Linked DNA regions of Homo sapiens: region 1 is linked to region 2. The links are contacts of gene promoters, found by promoter capture Hi-C in blood cells and fetal thymus (Javierre and others, 2016). All regions are on one chromosome and are shown on one strand. The core of a region is centred on a gene start or on the middle of the fragment in contact, and the rest is flanking DNA. Distances in the headings are between cores, read along the strand shown. Region 1 overlaps SAMD9 (sterile alpha motif domain containing 9). Region 2 holds the start of FAM133B (family with sequence similarity 133 member B).

What was found. The method cuts DNA at HindIII sites, captures the fragments that hold promoters and counts their contacts. A CHiCAGO score of 5 or more calls a contact.
Region 1: a fragment that was not itself captured here is called in contact with the fragment with the promoter of FAM133B in region 2 in 7 of 17 cell types (fetal thymus, total CD4 T cells, naive CD4 T cells and 4 more); the score reaches 8.5 in fetal thymus.

The regions. Positions count from the first base shown.
Region 1 is chr7:93,112,247-93,114,946 of GRCh38, forward strand. It overlaps SAMD9 (sterile alpha motif domain containing 9), which reads right to left. Exons shown (of 3, transcript NM_017654.4): 2 at 2,549-2,649. Among named protein-coding and RNA genes, the nearest start is that of SAMD9, 4.4 kb to the right of the region's middle. The HindIII fragment of the contact is 2,912 bases long and covers 1-2,700 here.
Region 2 is chr7:92,589,034-92,591,733 of GRCh38, forward strand. FAM133B (family with sequence similarity 133 member B) reads right to left here and starts at 1,357. Exons shown (of 11, transcript NM_152789.4): 1 at 1,235-1,357. The coding sequence starts at 1,258. RefSeq lists enhancers at 1,085-1,144, 1,235-1,514. The HindIII fragment of the contact is 8,062 bases long and covers 194-2,700 here.

The DNA of each region.
Region 1 (2,700 bases), core at 55-2,554, 520 kb after region 2:
ATTCCACAGCCTTTCATGCTAAAAACTCTCAATAAACTAGGTATTGATGGGACATATCTCAAAATAATAAGAGCTATTTATGACGAACCCACAGCCAATATCATACTGAATGGGCAAAAACTGGAAGCATTCCCTTTGAAAACTGGCACAAGACAGGGATGCCCTTTCTCACCACTCCTATTCAACATAGTGTTGGAAGTTCTGGCCAGGGCAATTAGGCAGGATAAAGAAATAAAGAGTATTCAGTTAGGAAAAGAGGAAGTCAAATTGTCCCTGTTTGCAGATGACATGATTGTATGTTTAGAAAACCCCATCGTCTCAGCCCAAAATCTTAAGCTGATAAGTAGCTTCAGCAAAGTCTCAGGATTCAAAATCAATGTGCAAAAATCACAAGCATTCCTATACAACAATAACAGACAAACAGAGAGCCAAATGATGAGTGAACTCCCATTCACAATTGCTTCAAAGAGAATAAAATACCTAGGAATCCAACTTACAAGGGATGTGAAAGACCTCTTCAAGGAGAACTACAAACTACTGCTCAATGAGATAAAAGAGGACACAAACAAATGAGAGAACATTTCATGCTCATGGATAGGAAGAATCAATATCATGAAAATGGCCATACTGCTCAAGGTAATTTATAGATTCAATGCCATCCCCATCAAGCTACCAATGACTTTCTTCACAGAATTGGAAAAAACTACTTTAAAGTTCATATGGAACCAAAAAAGAGCCCGCGTTGCCAAGTCAATCCCAAGCCAAAAGAACAAAGCTGGAGGCATCATGCTACCTGATTTCAAACTATACTACAAGGCTACAGTAACCAAAACAGCATGGTACTGGTACCAAAACAGAGATATAGACCAATGGAACAGAACAGAGTCCTCAGAAATAATACCACACATCTACAACCATCTGATCTTTGACAAACCTGACAAAAACAAGCAATGGGGAAAGGATTCCCTATTTGATAAATGGTGCTGGGAAAACTGGCTAGCCATATATAGAAAGCTGAAACTGGATCCCTTCCTTACACCTCATACAAAAATTAATTCAAGATGGATTAAAGACTTAAACGTTAGAGCTAAAACCATAAAAACCCTAGAAGGAAACCTAGGCAATACCATTCAGGACATAGGCATGGGCAAGGACTTCATGACTAAAACACCAAAAGCAATGGCAACAAAACCAAAATTGACAAATGGGATCTAGTTAAACTAAAGCACTTCTGCACAGCAAAAGAAACTATCATCAGAGTGAACAGGCAACCTACAGAATGGGAGAAAATTTTTACAATCTACCCATCTGACAAAGGGCTAATATCCGGAATCTATGAAGAACTTAAATTTACAAAAAGAAATCAAGCAACCCCATCAAAAAGTGGGCAAAAGATGAACAGACACTTCTCAAAAGAAGACATTTATGCAGCCAACAGACACATGAAAAAATGTTCATCATCACTGGCCACCAGAGAAATGCAACTCAAAACCACAATGAGATACCATCTCACACCAGTTAGAATGGGGGATCATTAAAAAGTCAGGAAACAACAGGTGCTGGAGAGGATGTGGAAAAATAGGGACACTTTTACACTGTTGGTGGGACTGTAAACTAGTTCAACCATTGTGGAAGACAATGTGGCAATTCCTCAAGGATCTAGAACTAGAAATACCATTTGACCCAGCCATCCCATTACTGGGTATATACCCAAAGGATTATAAATCATGCTGCTATAAAGACACATGCACACGTATGTTTATTGCGGCACTATTCACAATAGCAAAGACTTGGAACCAACCCAAATGTCCATCATTGATAGACTGGATTAAGAAAATGTGGCACATATACACCATGGAATACTATGCAGCCTTAAAAAAGGATGAGTTCATGTCCTTTGTAGGGACATGGATGAAGCTGGAAACCATCATTCTGAGCAAAGTGTTGCCAAGGACAGAAAGTCAAACACCACATGTTCTCACTCACAGGTGGGAACTGAACAATGAGAACACTGGGACACAGGTTGGGGAACATCACACACTGGGGCCTGTTGTGGGGTGGGGGAGGGGGGAGGGATAGCATTAGGAGATATACCTAATGTAAATGACAAGTTAATGGGTGCAGCACACCAACATGGCACATGTATACATATGTAACAAAGCTGCACGTTGTGCACATGTACCCTAGAACTTAAAGTATAGTTTTTTAAAAAAGGAGGAATGACTGAAAATCATGAACCTAATGCCAGTTTAATAAATTGAAAGAAGAATAACAGAATAAAACTGAAATAAGAAGAATGAGAAAAATAAAGATAAGAGCAGGAATTTATAAAGTGGAAAACAAAATGACAAGAGAGACTCAGTGAAGTCCAAGAGCTGTTTAGATAAAAAGTAATAAAATTGACACATCCATGGAATGATTAACCAAAAAATAAAAAAGAAAGGTGGCACAAATAAGCAATATTAGAAACTTTAAAAATGAACCAACTTTAACTGAATAAATTGAAAACTGAGATTAATTGAGCAAATTCTTAAAAAATATAGCTTACCAAACTGACTCTAGAAGAAACCGAAGAAGTCTCACTTCCAGGGTGATGTAGGAGATCACAAAAGGCCACCTATTCACCCACTGCAACCATGAGATCAAAATCTGAAAAATTGCAAAACTCATATTTTTAAGTAATCACAAAGTCATCAATAG
Region 2 (2,700 bases), core at 107-2,606:
GGCAAGTGTCATCATTTCGTAAATGTTAAGTCTCCTTTGGTGTGAGACACACACAGCTTGCAAATAATTGTTGAATAAAAAAGCGAGTTCAAGAAACGTAGCACATTCGTTTTACGTGCATTTTCCTCATTTTGCTACTCAGTGGCTAAAACTTTGTCACAGGCAAGCCCAGAAATTGTCAGGCTGCAACCTAAGCTTATTGTTATTTCATTATGTTTACTACTCATTCAATCTGATTCATAACCTGAGTTTTTCAGCCCCCTCCCCGCCCCAGCGGTCTAGAATACTTTCCTCCCATCTCCGCTTCTCAAAAGCACCTTTTCTTTTGAATGCCTTTAGAATCTCTAACAACTATCAAGGACCATTTCCTACTCTTTCTGCTGTAAGTTATTTATGCATCTCTTTTATCTCATTCACTAGAGTAATAATTTTCATGCCCAGTACTCGCTCACACATCTTGCCTTTTGTGATTTCAATTAATCTGTAAGGTTGTAGATAATAATGATCCCCTTTTATAAACGACGGCACAGAGAAGAAAAGTAACTTGTTCTAGGTCACCCAACTTCCGACGGAACAAAACTGACATTCCAGTTTTGTGTTGGACTCGAAAGCCAACTATTTTCACGCCATTCATTCCCTCACAGTGTCTATGGGGGCCAGGTCCTACAGGGCGCTGGAGACACGAAAGCAAATGCTGCCATCCCATTTTCAAACGGGAGCCTGCTTGTCGCTAAAACCAGGCGCGCTGCTGGCTCTCCGGCACAGGGACCGCGTCGAGGCCTCTGTGCCTCCCTCCCACTTGGGTGCGCAGGAGAGGGGTGCGGACCTGGGGCGGCCGATACCAAGGGGCGGGTGAGTCGGATGCGTCCAAGGGCCTAAGTCTTCGGAGTTACATGGCGGGGCCAGGTGTGGGGGGGGTTCCCCGAGCCCTCGCGGTTCTAAGTGGGCACTGGGGGCCCGCGTACAGCAGGCAAGAGTGCAAACCAGCAGCGCCAGAAAGAGCGACGAGGTGAGGGAAGAAAAAAGGGGCGGGCAAGAGAGAGCTGGGAACCCTAAAGCGCCAACTGCGTGCGCGGCGCACGCGCATCTGGGATCGGCGGAGGGTGCTGGGTCTCCAGGCCCCACGTCTGAGGGCTGCCGCTTGCCCTCCGGCCCGGCCGGGAACAGCGAGGGTTCTCGCTGTCCTGCCGCCGGGCCCTGCGTCGCCCCACTGTTTTCCCGGCTGAGTACTCACCACCCGATTGTCCCGCTTCCCCATGGTGCTGGATCGAGCGCACAGTAGCACGCCGAGGGAAACCGGGCCGGAGAGACTGCCGAAGAGGGCCTGCCGCAGGTCCTCTTGCCGCCTCCCCACTCCGCCTAGAGAGCGGCACCACGCGGACTCGACGGCCGCGCTCTGCTACAGCGCCCCCTATCTCTGTGGAGGACAGGCCGGCTCCAGAGATCGCTGCAGTTGGCGGAGCGCCTGCAGGAGTCCGGTCGTTCATTAGGCACCCAAGAGCAGGCGACGCTGCGCTTCTGCACCGGAGCCCCACCAAGGCAGCTCGCTTCAGTTTGGCCTTGGATTGTTTTGCTTTCTTCCATTCTTTTTTTTTTTTTTTTTTTTTTTTTTTTTTTTAGACAGACTCTCGCTCCGTCGCCCAGGCTGGAGTGCAGTGGCACGATCTAGGCTCACTGCAGCCTCCACCTCCCGGGTTCAAGCGATTTTCCTGCCTCAGCATCCCGAGTAGCTGAGATTACAGGCGGCCGTCAACACGCCGGGCTAAATTTTTTGTATTTTTAGTAGAGACAGGGTTTTACCACGTTGGCCAGGCTGGTCTATAACTCCTGACCTCAAGTGATCCGCCCGCCTCGACCCAAAGTGCTGGGATTACAGGCATGAGCCACTGCGCTTGGCCTTTCTTCCATTCTTGATACACTGAAATACTCATTCGAGGGGACACAAAGATTCTCCCGATGCTTATTTTGTGCTTGACAGAGTGCAAGTGCTGGGGACAAAGTGAGGACCAAAGAGCCTTGGTCCCTCACGGAGCCCATCAGCTGGTGGGGGGAAAGGCAGTGCTGTCATAGACGCTGCTAACGAAATCACCCTTTAATTTCAATCCCATTCATTCATCACCTGTGCATTCATTTCACACTAATTTTTGAACATGTAGTTTGTACAGTTTTCACTAACTGGGTGGCTGGAAGCTGGAGCTGGGTAGGGCACAAAGATGATTAAGAAAAATCCCTATCGTCAAGGAGCCTGTTTATAAACTCGTAAGGGCAATAAACACACACAGGGCCAACTTTACTGCATAGCATATCGTAATATTGGCACTACTGCACTGCAACTTTAAGGAAGATGATCTGGGCTCCAGAGAAGATAATCATATTTAGTAAGTATTTATAGATAAAGCGACCCCTCTGGGTTCATCTTAGCAAGTATCATTAGGAAGTAGTTGAAAATCAATTAGGATCTTCTCCGGACTCTTGGAAATGGCAAAATGGGAATTACACTAATTACATACAAGAACATGCTTTAAAATCATCTTTCCCGATCTCTGCCTCCCTCCCTCCCTGCATTTTTCATGCTACACTATATGACAGATGCTCCCAACTACCATCTTCTGTCTCAAAACTTTTCCAAACTCTCACATGCAGTCCTTGGTGGTTCTGCTCCCTACTAAGTGTTGATTCTTCCTCAGTAACCCACTTTCC